Regions from separate parts of the Homo sapiens genome. Here region 1 is linked to region 2. Evidence: promoter capture Hi-C in 16 types of primary human blood cells and fetal thymus (Javierre and others, 2016). All regions are on one chromosome and are shown on one strand. Each heading gives the region's core, a stretch centred on a gene start or on the middle of the fragment in contact. The rest is flanking DNA. Distances are from core to core; before and after follow the strand shown.

Evidence for each region. The method cuts DNA at HindIII sites, captures the fragments that hold promoters and counts their contacts. A CHiCAGO score of 5 or more calls a contact.
Region 1: the fragment with the promoter of CFAP276 here is called in contact with the fragment with the promoter of LAMTOR5 in region 2 in 2 of 17 cell types (neutrophils and total B cells); the score reaches 6.7 in neutrophils.

What each region holds. Positions count from the first base shown.
Region 1 is chr1:109,110,957-109,117,540 of GRCh38, reverse strand. It overlaps CFAP276 (cilia and flagella associated protein 276), which reads left to right and starts at 4,794. Exons shown (of 5, transcript NM_001245025.3): 1 at 4,794-4,942. The coding sequence starts at 4,862. It overlaps ELAPOR1 (endosome-lysosome associated apoptosis and autophagy regulator 1), which reads right to left and starts at 3,426. Exons shown (of 22, transcript NM_020775.5): 1 at 3,205-3,426. The coding sequence starts at 3,357. RefSeq lists a silencer at 3,605-3,674. The HindIII fragment of the contact is 3,574 bases long and covers 2,158-5,731 here.
Region 2 is chr1:110,404,929-110,412,087 of GRCh38, reverse strand. LAMTOR5 (late endosomal/lysosomal adaptor, MAPK and MTOR activator 5) reads left to right here and starts at 4,394. Exons shown (of 4, transcript NM_001382293.1): 1 at 4,394-4,502; 2 at 5,709-5,770. The coding sequence starts at 4,468. LAMTOR5-AS1 (LAMTOR5 and SLC16A4 antisense RNA 1) reads right to left here and starts at 4,279. Exons shown (of 3, transcript NR_102697.1): 1 at 4,134-4,279. RefSeq lists an enhancer at 4,223-4,452. The HindIII fragment of the contact is 8,453 bases long and covers 2,493-7,159 here.

The DNA.
Region 1 (6,584 bases), core at 3,545-6,044, 1.3 Mb after region 2:
TGGCATCACTCATTCAACAAATTTTATTCCAATCCATGTCTGCTAGATTCCTAACCCATGGGCTTTTCAATATAGACTGGGGAACCCCTTTGAGGCCAATTAGCCCTGGAGCCTCAGGATAAGGTAGAGCGTGTTAAAGGCAGCTTTCTGCTCCTCTTTGGTTTGATTTGCTTCACTGCACCTTGGGAAATGCTCCTTTGGCTCGCAGTCAGCACTTAGCCTTGGCTAAAGAAACGATTCATGAAAACGAATATCATACAGGATGTTTAGTTCCATTTGTGACCCTGATTATTATAAAACTGTGAGAGGAATGCCAAGCCCCAGCACATGTCCAGCAGTCTAGAACTCCCACTTTGCCACTTCAGTTTAGGCCTCAAGCTAAACCTCTCCGTTTCCTGATTACATCCAGAGGGATGCCTCAGCTTTCACGAACAAGGCTGGAACAATATTATTGTCATTAGGGTCAGCCTTGGCCTGATAAGAGTCCTGCCATCAACACCCAACATCAGCTCACAAGAAATTCGTATGAAGATTAAGAACAGAGAAGAGTGGCTGGGCACAGTGACTCACGCCTGCAGTCCCAGCACTCTGGGAGGCCAAGGCGGGTGGATCACCTGAGGTCAGGAGTTCAAGACCACCCTGGCCAACATGATGAAACCCCATCTCTACTAAAAATACAAAAATTAGCCGGGTGTGGTTGCACATGCCTGTAATCCCAGCTACTTGGGAGGCTGAGGCAGGAGAATTGCTTGAGCCTGGGAGGTGGAAGCTGCAGTGAGCCGAGATCATGCCACTGCACTCCAGCCTGGCCTGGCAACAAAGCCAGACTCTGTCTCACCAAAAAAAAAAAAAAAAAAAAAGAACAGAGAAGAGCTGGTCTACCTTGAATTGGTTTTTCACCATTTGGGGTTGGAAGCCCCCAAACTTGTTTGATCAGTTCATATTGCCAAATGAATACTATAATAATGGGTTTATTCTCTCCCTGATTGTTTTGGAGTTGAGGGTGTTCAATGGCCACTGTTTGCTCAAGGAGAATGTAAACAGGACTTGCTGACGCCTGTGGCAAATGGGCATGCCTCCTAAGCCATTTCCAATCTGGCATGGGGTGTGGATCTAATGGGAAAGAAGCTGAACAGAGAAGGAGGGTGGGTAACTCTCTTTTGTGTTTCCAATGTATTTTCTATTTCAATACTCAAAGCAATCCTTTCTGAGGTAGGTGTTATTTTGATACCCATTCTACAAATCCAAAAACCACGTGGTAAGTAACAGGACTGAAACCCTGGTAGGTTGAGCTCCATAGCTTTCCACTACCTTAAGCTTACACTTTGTGGCAAGACCTTTTGCTTAGGCAAATATTGGTTATTCAAACAGGACCAAAGGCAAAATTCGTACACAAGTTCGAGTTCTCAAGTATCAATATTCTTCCCTTCCTCCAAACCAAGATAATAGAAGTGCTTAATTTCTGAAATGTCTCATATTTTCCATTGTTGACAAAGATCTCAACAAGAATTGGTAGTTAAACTGTATGATTCTTACCTTCCACTCAGGAAACTCCCTTGTTTGATTCTTAGGCAAGTGGGCTTTCTTGGTCTCATTATTTTGGTTGGTTAGACCACAGGCCATCAAGGCCAGTGAGCCAGTCACTGATAAGATCATACTGTTCCCTGCGATCTCTAAAACAGGTCATAATGCGGCTAGGTGGAAATGTAGATGGCCCAGGGCAGGTTGTCATTGGAGCTAATAAAGGTTATCAAAAGTCCCACTCACTGGGGTCACTTATGTCATATTCATGAATCTTCAAAATCAAGTATCTTTATTCACACAAAAATCCTCCCCCCCACACCTGACTTCTTTATGACCTGCTGTGCTGTAGACACAGAACATCTTTATAAGAATTTATCTCCATATGGGATGGAGTTGTTGCCAATCAGTTCACACTAACAATTTATAAAAAATATTCTGGGCTGGGCGCAGTGGCTCATTCTTATAATCCCAGCACTTTGGGAGGCCGAGGTGGGAAGTCGCTTGAGCCCAGGAGTTAGAGACTGGCCGGGGCAGTATATCGAAACCTCATTTCTATTTTAAAACATATATTTTTTAAAGTAAAGAAAATACATCTATATATATATTCTAACCTCTCAAAACCTTAGTCAAGCTTGATATTTGGGATTAAATTTACAGAGCTAGATGCTTGACTTTTTATGAAGTCCTTCACATTTCACAGAAATAACAGAACTTTTATTTTGCCTTCCCCAACGTAGTTCTTGTAAATATCTTATTGTTGCCTCTGCCATATGGTTTCTAAAAAAGTTGCTCAGAGCACAACCAAATATTGTTATTTCAATAACATAGAAATGACTTAGTTTTGTTGCTGCTAGTGCCCTTTTATGTTCCTCCAAGATGACTTTTCAAAAGCTATTTTTGGTTATAAGAGATTGACTACCTATTGTCTGAATTCTGCTTCCAACATATTGGAAATACCTTGAAAAAGACTTTGACATATGTTAAGTCAGAGAAGGAGACTAGAGGTTGGCAGAACACAAGATATTGAAGAACTCAAAATCTGCAAAAAGGTGAGTCGTGTACTGTCAGGTACACTAAACATAGTACGCTGCGGGGAGGCCAAGCTATAAGGAGGAGACACATTTTACAGTCTGCACTAACCGATGTTTAATAAACAAGGAACTAGAGAGCTGGAATCCTATCATCCCTCTCGCACATCTCCCACCTTCACACTCCGTTTTGTGTAGCCATGATAAAACCACTTCGCTCTGATACTTTTTTCTGGCCTTCCTAACTCCTTTCCTCTCCCACTACTCTTCTTTCCTCTTCCTATTTTGCTTCTCTGTGCATAATCTTTTCTTGTCAACCACTTTTAAGGTGAGTTCATCCTAACTGGAAAATAACTCGTCTGCCTCCCTCATTCTGAGTTCAGGTACCCAGGTAGCTCCCCTTCTTGGGGCTGGGACCTTTCTCGCTGAGCTCAGCATCCCAATCTGTGAGGATGATCTATCCGTGAGTCCTCCAATGTGCTGGCCTCCTCATGACGCCAGACTGGCTCCTCTTCCCTCCCCCCACGCCTCATCCCCAAAGAAATCTAAACTCCGTGGCGTCTGAAACTCTCTGCGCCTGGGTCCCCAAGGTCTCCGCCTGGATCCAAGACTTTTGTGACCAAAGCGGGATCGGGTAGGGGGGCGGCAGTACCTCTTTGCAGGCATGAAGCTCCGGTCCCGTTCCCTGGGTCACCTGGAAGGCGGTCCCAGCCCAGAGCAGCAGCCGCCACAGCCGGGGTATGCGCCTCTCAGTTCTTCCCCTGACTCTGGCGGAGAGATGGTGGCTGTGCCCAGGCTCAGCCATAGCGTTGTCCTGAGTGAGCGGCAGTAGCGGCTCAGGTGCTGCGGCTGCTGCTTCTGCTGGCAGAAGGCGGAAAAAAAGGGGAGGGAGGTACACAGGCGGAGGATGCAAGAGGCCAGGCTCGCTTCAGTCACCTCCCTGCGGCTACGCCAACACCGCCCATCCTTCCTCCTCCCTCTGTCCTCTCCTCCTACCCACGTCGCCTTGACAACCGCCTCCTCTCTGGCTCCGCGCGGGTGGGGCAGGGACCACGCGCGCCTCTGCAGCTCACCTGCGGGTCGCCATGGCAGCCGCCGCCGCTGGTGCGCGCGGCGTGGGCGCGGGAGAGCGCGCGCCCGGGGTGCGCAACCGGCCCAACAGGCAGGCCCGGGGCTCGTGTGAAGAACACAGTGGAAGCATCCTCCAAGCCAGCCAACAAATTTCCGTTTTCTACTGCCCTTTCGGGCCAGGGGTTATTTTATGAGCATCTCCGATGTTGCACACGTGGCGTGTGAACCGAGAGAAAGAAGATGGAGAGATCACCCTCCAGACGTCGTCGCCTGGAAGAGGCCCCAGTACGTGTTCCCTCCTACGAAGGCCACTCCTGGAGATCTTACATCCCGCCAAATCCATCCGTGCTTTTACAACCGGCTAGAAGAGAAGCCCTGACACTGTAGTTGATCCGAGTTTAAGCGAGGAGTTTGCCTTAGCCGCAATTTCCCAAGCGCCGCACGTGGGCCTCTCTCTCTCTCTCTCTCTCTCTCTCTCTCTCTCTCTCTCTCTCTCTCTCTTTCTCTCTCTCTCTCTCTCTCTCTGAGACAGGGTCTCACTCTCTCGCCCACACTGGAGTGCAGTGGCGCGATCTCGGCTAACTGCAACCTCCGCCTTCCGGGTTCAAGAGATTCTCCTGGATTAGCCTCCCGAGTAGCTGGGACTACGGGCGCGTGCCACCAAGCCCAGCTAATTTTTTTCCTACTTTTTGTAGAGACGGGGTTTCGCCATGTTGCCCAGACTGGTCTCGAACTCTTGGGCTTAAGCGATCCGCCCGCCTCCGCTTCCCAAAGTGCTGAGATTACAGGCGTGAACCACCGCGCCCGGCCCTCTTTGGTCTCTTGACATCCTCATTCTCTCATGGCTTTGAAAGCCTTTTGTTAGGTGCGAGGGAGAAGGAAATTTCTGGGTCATCTTTCAGGACTTCTTTCCTCAACTGAAGTCTTTTGCAGAAGTCCTGATGGTGAGCAGCCAGCACTTTTCCGCCGAGGCTCAGGAGTGCAATTCCAAGTCTCGGGCCCGCTCAGCGGAACGTTCCCTCTGCAGTCCCCGGAGCTTCCTCCCCAGGGGCCTCCCGTGGTCAGCCGCCAGGTGGCGCCCTCCTCTGAGGGAATTCCTCTGTCATAGATGGCTGGGCAGTTGCCTGGCAACCGAAACCAGCGCTCCAAACAATTGGGACCCGGGATCTTATGCCAGTGAGGCTGTGCTGCGGCTGAGCGGGCCTCCCATCCCTCTTAAAAGAGTTAGGCATTTAGCCATGCCTCCCACCCGGGACCCTTTCCAGCAGCCTACATTAGATAACGATGATTCCTACTTAGGAGAACTGCGGGCTTCCAAGGTACTGTGGTTTCTTGCGCAGATTCCCAGTAGGGTCGCCGGTAGTCTTCTTTCTGTCTGTGTGATGAGCAGAGATGGTAACATAAAGGACTCTGGTGAAGACACTCAGTCGGGTACCAGGGAAGTCTGTTTTCTGCCTGCCTCCCTATCTCCATATTCAAGTCGGCTAACGTTTCAGAGGCGTTTTTGAGCAGAGGAAAGTAGAGTTCTAGTCTAGAGGAACAAGGGGCTCTGGCAGCTCAAATCAATTGTGAGTATAAGTTATGGCAGTGCCCAGGTTCCTTCAAGCTACCCATTTCCCTATTTGGAAGACTGTTCTCTGAAGAGAAATGAGATATGGAGTGGGAGAGAATCCTCTGAAAGCCACCAGAGGTCATGCTTTACACATCTGTGTTCACACTGTCTCTGTCTTCTGGTTAACACCACAATATGTTTGTTATGTGTGTGTTTAGCATGATGGTGGACACTGATTTCGGAACTTAGATGATCTTTTTTCTGGTAGAAGTGATTGGGATATATGAAGTGGTGCACAATAAGATGAATTAAGTGGTGATTGTGGTCTAATAACAATATTGAGAGCCCCTTTTTATTTATTCAATACTTATTTACTATAAGCCAGACACTCTGCTAAACGCCAAGGATATATAAATAAATTAGATGTAGCTTCTGCTGTCAAGGAACTCTAGTAGTAAAGAGAGACCGACAATAGCAAAAATGCTTGCACAATAGCACATGTTGTGACAGAGTTGTGTGCAGGGTGCCGTGAGAACCAGGAACTTAAAGGAAAGCTTCACAGAGCAGATGCATTTTGATGTCCAAATATGAGTTAGGTAGGCCAGGTGAGGGAGTGGATAGAATGTGAGTTAGGAAGAAGGAAACAGGAACCAGATATGCAAGGCAAAGGAAGCAGCAGGTGCAAATACATGGAAAGGAGAGAGAGAATGGCTTATTTGGGGAACTGCAAATAGTCTAGAAGGGCTGGAGTGTAGGCGTGCAATGGAAGCACTCAGAAATCAGAGCTGGAGAGATGCCCTTGGTTGGCTGGGTGTGCTGTGTACACCATGCTAGCTAGCTATGGTTTCATCCTAGGGATGTGAGGAATCATTGTGGGATATTTTTTTTTTTTTGAGACAGGGTCTCCTTGCTCTGTCACCCCAGCTGGAGTGCACTGGTGCAATCTTGGCTTACTGCAGCCTCGAACTCCTGGGCTCAAGCAATTCTCCCACCTCAGCCTCCCAAGTAGCTGGGACTACAGGTGATGCCACCACACCCGGCTAATTCTTATTTTATTTTTTTGTAGAACCAGGATCTTCCTTTGTTGCCCAGGCTGGTCTCAAACTCCTAGCCTCAAGTGATCCTCCTGCTTTGGCCTCCCAAAGTGCTGAGATTACAGGCATGAGCCATGGGTCCCAGCCCCATAGCAGGATTTTAAGTACCACAGTGACACAATCAGATGGGTGTTTTAGGAAGCACAAGTGGCAGCAGACTGGATAGGATGAGAGTGAGACAAGAGGGATCAGCTAGGAGGCAGGTGAGGTGATCTCCAGGAGGAAGAGTAACAGATCTACAGCAGTGCCACAGGGGGTGGTGATCAGGTGCAGATGTGAGAAAGGTGCACAGGGCAGGACTGACAGGACTTGGAG
Region 2 (7,159 bases), core at 3,145-5,644:
TGCAGGAGTTCGAGACCAGCCTGGCAACATGGCAAAACCCCATCTCTACAAAAAATACAAAAAATTTAGCTACACATGGTAGTGTACACCTGTAGTCCCAGCTACTCAGGAGGATGAATCACGAGCTCAGGAGGCAGAGGTTGCAGTGAGCCAAGATTGTGCCACTGCACTCCAGCCTGGGTGATAGAGTAAAACCCTGCCTCAAAAAGAAAAGAAAAAAAAAAGAATAAGAATTAAAAAGAGAAAAGAATGAACTTTTTCAAAAGTAAACATAAAAAATTACAATATAATGAAACAAATGCTCTAATACGGATGTCATGGAACTTTTCCTGTCACCCCAGAAATGGTTGCCAGCACTCAAAACTAAGAACAAAGAATTGTTAAATACCCCACAAGCTAAAGAAAGTAGAAAACAAGGGTCAGATACTTTCCCCAACCATCACTCCAGCCCCTAGCACTTGCCCAATTTATATATACTATTCCTCTCCCATTGCCTACTTGCACAGGGGCAAGACAGCAGCAGGGCAGAGAAAGCGGGGGTGGTAAGGAGTAGCCTGCTCTCTCACCTCCCATGTGGCAAGGACATGTGAGCCAGCTATCATCCTCTTCCTACTTGATTTCCCTTCAAAGGCCTTCCTTATAGCTTAAAAAGCAATCGCCAGTCTTTCGGAGAATCCTTTTTTTTTTTTGAGACAGGGTCTCATTCTGTCACCCAGGCTGGAGTGCAGTTGTGCAATCTCAGCTCACTGCAGCCTCAACCTCCCGGGCTCAAGTGATCCTCCCACCTCACACAAAGTACTTGAGACCACAGGTGCGCATCACCATGCCCAGCTAATTTTTGTGCTTTGGTAGAGACAGGGTCTCCCCACGTTGGCTAGGCTGGTCTCAAACTCCTGGGCTCAAGCCATCCGCCCACCTAGGCCTCCCAAAGTGCGGGGATTACAGGCGTAAACCACCATACCAGGCCTGAAAACTACCATGCCTGGCCTGAGAATCCTTTAATCACTGATCTAGCTTTGAGATAATTTGAGATATCCTTGGGCTACACTGGCCAATACTGTGGCCACTAGCCACAGGTGGCTGCTGAGCACTTGAAATGCGGCTGGTCTGAATTGAAATGTGCTGCTAACTGAAAAATATACCCTGGATTTTGAAGACAGTACTGGAGAAAAAATATAAAATATCTCATTAGTATTTTATCAATCACAAGTTGAAATAATATTTTGAATATATTGTTTGAATAAATAAAATGTTATTAAAATTAGTTTCATCTGTTTTACTTTTTTTTGAGACAGTCTCACACTGTAGCACAGCCTGGAGTGCTGTGGCTCAATCTCGGCTCACTGCAACCTCCAGCTCCCGAGTTCAAACGATCCTCCTGCCTCAGCCTCCTGAGTAGCTGGGACTACAGGCACGCACCATCACACCCAGCTAATTTTTGTATTTTTAGTAGAGATGGGGTTTCGCCATGTTGGCCAGGCTGGTCTCAAACTCCTGACCTCAACTGATCCACCCATCTCGGCCTCCCAAAGTGCTAGGATTACAGGCGTGAGCCACTGCACCCTGCCCTGTTTTACTTTTTTTTTTTTTTTTTTTTTTTTTTTGAGACAGAGTCTCGCTCTGTCGCCCAGGCTGGAGTGCAGTGGCGCGATCTCGGCTCACTGCAAGCTCCGCCTCCCAGGCTCACACCATTCTCCTGCCTCAGCCTCCTGAGTAGCTGGGACCACAGGCGCCCACCACCACACCCGGAGAATTTTTTGTATTTTTAGTGGAGACAGGGTTTCACCGTGTTAGCCAGGATGGTCTCAATCTCCTGACCTCGTGATCCACCCGCCTCGGCCTCCCAAAGTGCTGGGATTACAGGCGTGAGCCACCGCGCCCGGCTGTTTTACTTTTTTTAATGTGGCCACTAGACTATATTGCCCAGGCTGGACTTGAACTCCTGGGCTCAAGGGATCCTCCTGCCTCAGCCTCCTGAGTAGCTGGGATTATAGGCACGTGCCATTTCACCAGGCAGTACTTATGTTTTCTAATGCTAAGTTTTAAACTGCTTTTTCTAAAACTTATATGGCCTGTACTGTGTTACCCCTAACTTAACATGAATAATTTCTCTAGAGCAGGAGTCCAAGACCCCTGAATTATAACATTCAAACTGGAATTTTGGCTGGGTGCAATGGCTCATGCCTATAATCCCAGCACTTTGGGAGGCTGAGGTGGGCGGATCGCTTGAGGTCAGGAGTTTGAGACCAGCCTGGCCAACATGGTGAAACCCCATCTCTACTAAAAGCACAAAAATTAGCCACGTGTGGTGGTGCATGCCTGTAATCCCAGCTACTCGGGAGGCTGAGGCAGAAGAATCGCTTGAACCAGGAGGCAGAGGTTGCAGTGAGCTGAGACGGCGCCACTGCACTCCAGCCTGGGCGATAGAGCAAGACTCTGTCTCAAAAAAATAAAGAAATAAACAAACTGGAATTTCAAGGAAGCTGCAAGCTTCACTATGACAGCTGCGGAATAAAAAGGGACTCTGAATGCCAGTGCAGTGTATTGGACTTTGGTTCAATACCAAAGTCTGGTATCTTCCGATCTGGGAGCTGGGCCCCAGATTGGAAGGTAGGCTGTGAGTAAAAAGCTGGAGGTGACAGAGTTGGAAGAAACTTAGTGCAAGGAATGATCCACAGAGGGGGTGAGGCTTACCAATTTGAGTAAATTAGCACCACTTTTTCGGGAGGCAATTTGTAAGTATGTATCAAGAGTCTTAAAAAATGATCATGTCCTTTAACCCAGTCATTCCATTTCTAGTAACTTATAAGGAAATTTTAAAACTGCACAGATATTTAGCTATGAGGATATTCAACCAGCATTGTAATAGCTAAAACAAAAAACAAACAAAAGCAAAAAAAAAAAAAAAAGTCCAAGTACAGTGGCTCACCTGCAATCTCAGCGCTTTGGGAAGCCAACGAGGGAGGGTCACTTGAGACTGGGCTACACACTGAGACTCCATCTCTACAATTTTTTTTTTAATTAGCTAGGTGGGGTGGCGGGTCCCTGTAGTCCCAGCTTCTTGGGAGGCTGAGGTGGGAAGATCGCTTGAACCTAGAAGGCTGAGGCTGGACTAAGCCATGATAGTGCCACTGCACTCCAACCTTAATCCACAATTAAGATACAGCTATAAAATGGAATATTTTGCAACTACTACAAAGGATGTAAGTGAAAACTTGACATGGAAAGACATTTATTCTAAACTCTGTAAAGAAGGCCAGCTACAGAATTGTACCTCCAGTATGTATGTCAATTTTGCTTACAAAACAAACAAAACAAAAAAAACCATGCTAGGCGTGGTGACTCAGCCTGTAATCACATTTTGGGAGGCTGGAGTGGGAGGATCTGTTGAAGCAAGGAGTTTAAGACCAGCCTGGACAACACAGCGAGACCCCCATCTCTACAAAAAAACGTAAAAATTAGCCAGACATGATGGCTCGAGGCTGTGGTCCTAGCCAGTCGAGAGGCTGAGAGGTGAGGATAGCTTGAACCCAGGACGTCCGGGTTGCAATGAGCTATAATCGTTCTACTGCACTACAGCCTGGGTAACAGAGCAAGACCCTGTCCCCCAAAAAATTTATTTTAAAAAGGCAAACGAAAAAACATTAAAAGTATACATTTACAAAGACAACTATCTGAAAGGATATTCTCCAAGAAGTTAAAAGTCGTCTTTGGACAGTGGGGCCATAGATGTTTTCCTATTTTTACCAGCTTTATAATTAATTTTTAAAAGTTATTTTCAAGTAGTCCTACCCAGTCTTCCTTACGAGTTAGGACTCAAATGCCACTCTCTTCCCCTAAACTGTCCTGAGTCCCCTCACCATAATAAGCACCAATGTCTTCGTTAAAATCCCGACACTGCCAACACTCAGCTAGGGGGTTGAACCTTGCTCCATCTCGTCCTTTAGTCTCTGTGTGCGTCTTTCCCCCTACAAGCCTACTGACCCCCTCCAAGAGGTCCCGTGTCTTCCCCGTACTTGCCCCACAGGCTAGATCAGACCCTGTCTGACCCCTGGGTTATTGTAAAACTTAAGATCTGTCCCCTAGGTCTCGGAGTCGGTTGAACTAGGGTCCAAAGGTTAAAAAACACTGACACAAAATGCCAGGCCACGAACTGAAGCACTGAGGCCCGGCTGCAGACCTCTCCCGAGAGGGGAATAATCCGTGCCGGCCGGTTCCGCCATGGAGCCAGGTGCAGGTCACCTCGACGGTCACCGCGCGGGGAGCCCAAGCCTTCGTCAGGCTCTGTGCGACGGAAGCGCAGTGATGTTTTCCAGTAAAGAACGCGGACGTTGCACCGTGATCAATTTTGTCCCTTTGGAGGCGCCGTTACGGTCCACGCCCCGCTCGCGTCAAGTGACTGAGGCCTGTGGTGGAGAAGGACGTGCCGTGCCGCTGGGTTCTGAGCCGGAGTGGTCGGTGGGTGGGATGGAGGCGACCTTGGAGCAGCACTTGGAAGACACGTGAGTAGTGCGCGCCTCTTCGGCCTGTCCTGAGGTCGCGGCGGAGGAACTTGAGCGGAACGAAAGGCGCGAGCTGCGAGTACCGGCCAGGGCGTCTCGGGGACGTCGCGCGACCCCCGGGACACGGGATGAGGGGGCTAAACTCTACCCAAGGCCGCAGGGCGGGGCGGGTGACCCGGAATTAAAATCCTGCCGGGCACCGCACATTCCCTCTTGAGCGAGTCTCCCGGGCCCAGGCCACGGGCCAAAACTGCCTATCTCGTTGTTGAAATCGTCTTTACGGTCAGGGTGGTTCTGCGGAAGTTTTAGAAAACGGGTTGACTTTTGGGAAGATTGTGCCAGTTGTGCAGTGTCGAGCCCTGCAGTGTAAACAAACACGTATCTCCTGTGTGTAACCTATCAGTTACTTGGTGCTTAAGTAGATAAAAATCATTCTTTAAATTTTTCGAACAAGCAGTATCTATGTAAAATTCAAAACTGGAAAAGTGTAAAGGGTACAGAGAGACACCTGCCTCCCACCGATGTCCCTCAGCTTCCACTTACCCTCCAGGAGGTAACTTGAGTTTTTCAACAGTTGTTTTAAATGAGTTAGTACTAAAACATGCGTTTTTAACAAGAGTGAAAACATCCTAGATGTTTTTCACGCAGTGTTTGTGGCCCTCCAGAACTCAGCAGTACTTAGCACATTTTTTTCTCTCATCAGAGAGAAACTGGTTTATTTCAATTAATTAACTAGAACTTAAATTTTTTGTGTTCTTTTTTTGAGACGGAATTTCGCTCGTCTTCCAGGCTGGAGTGCAATGGCGTGATCTCGGCTCACTGCAACCTCCGCCTCCCAGGTTCAAGCGATTCTCTTGCCTCAGCCTCCCGAGTAGCTGGGATTACAGTCATGCGCCACCACGCCTGGCTAATTTTGTATTTTTAGTAGAGACGGGGTTTCTCCATGTTGGTCAGGCTGGTCTTGAACTCCCGACCTCAGGTGATCCGCCCACCTGGGCCTCCCAAAGTGCTGGGATTACAGGCGTGAGCAACCGCGCCCGGCCCTAGAACTTAATTTTTTTCTTAGGGTGTGACAATGAAAAAAGATTGAGAAATATTGATTTAAAGCACTTAATGCCTGGTACATAGAACACCTGTATGTTTGTACTTATTTAAATCCTTTTTCTCCCATTATGTACTTCAACTCTCTTGTGTTCCTGGAATTAGAATGAAGAATCCCTCCATTGTTGGAGTCCTGTGCACAGATTCACAAGGACTTAATCTGGGTTGTAAGTATCTCTCATACCAACTATTTGATGAATTGCATAGCATCTGATGTTGACTTGGAGCCTAGCGTGCTATTATTTTCTAGCTTTTATTTCCTGTTACCTTGCCAGGTCTTTCTGAGTTTGAGAGTAGAGATTATCTCCAAATAACAGTATCAGAAAATTGAAACTTTTCAGTTGGTATTTATGAAGGAAGATGTTCCTTGCAGTCCTATAACAATAAATAGTTGTCTCTACTAAAAATAATATTTGAATCATTTTAAATTGAGTCTAGAAAGGACTTCAGATAATAACAGCTGTTAACCATTTATTGAATGTATGCCATATGCTGAGACTGCTAGGCTCTAAATACATTATCTTTAATTTTCACAACAACCCGGCAAGGTGGGTGGTGTACAATTTTGAAGCTCAACTACACTAAACAAGAAGTGAATAGGCAGTAAAATGGGATTTCAGTGTTGGACATACCTGGTCTCAATCCCTTGCTCTTTCATTTGTTAGTAGTGTGAACGTGGACCAAAAAACTACCTTTTAGGCCCTCATTTTCTTCACTGGGTTGTTATTTGATAATGGTAATAATCATAGAATTATATTTATTGAGCTGTTATGTGCCAAGCACCATTGTAAGTGCTTTACATATACTCTTTTATTCCTCATAACAACCCAGTGAGGTAGAAAAAGAAATTGAGGGACCAGGTGCAGTGTCTCACGCCTGTAATCCCAGCACTTTGGGAGACCAAGGTGGGCAGATCACTTGAGCCCAGGAGTTCAAGACCAGCCTGTGCAACACAGTGAGACCCCCCATCTCTATTTTTACAATAAACATATATATATGTTTTTAAAATTTAAAAAAAGAGGCCGGATGCGGTGGCTCACACCTGTGATCCCAGCACTTTGGGAGGCGGAGGCGGGTGGATCACCTGAGGTCAGGAGTTCGAGACTAGCCTGGCCAACATGGTGAAACCACATCTCTACTAAAAATGCAAAAAAAAATTAGCCAGGCATGGTAGCAGGTGCTAGTAATCCCAGCTACTCGGGAGGCTGAGGCAGGAGAATCGCTTGAACCTGGGAGGCAGAGGTTGCAGTAAGCCGAGATTGCACCATTGCACTCCAGCCTGGATGACAAGAGCGAGACTCTGTCTCAAAAAATAAAAAAAGAAACTGAGACACAGAGGTTAAATAACTTGCCTGAGGTCATGCAGCTAGTAAGTCGTTAAGCTAGGATTTTTGTCTGGCCCTGAGGCCTCTTAATCACTTTTTTTTTTTTTTTTTTGAGACGAAATCTTGCTCTGTCGCCCAGGCTAGAGTGCAGTGGCACGATCTTGGCTCACTGCAACCTCCATTTCCCAGGTTCAGGCAATTCTCCTGCCTCAGCCTCCTGAGTAGCTGGGA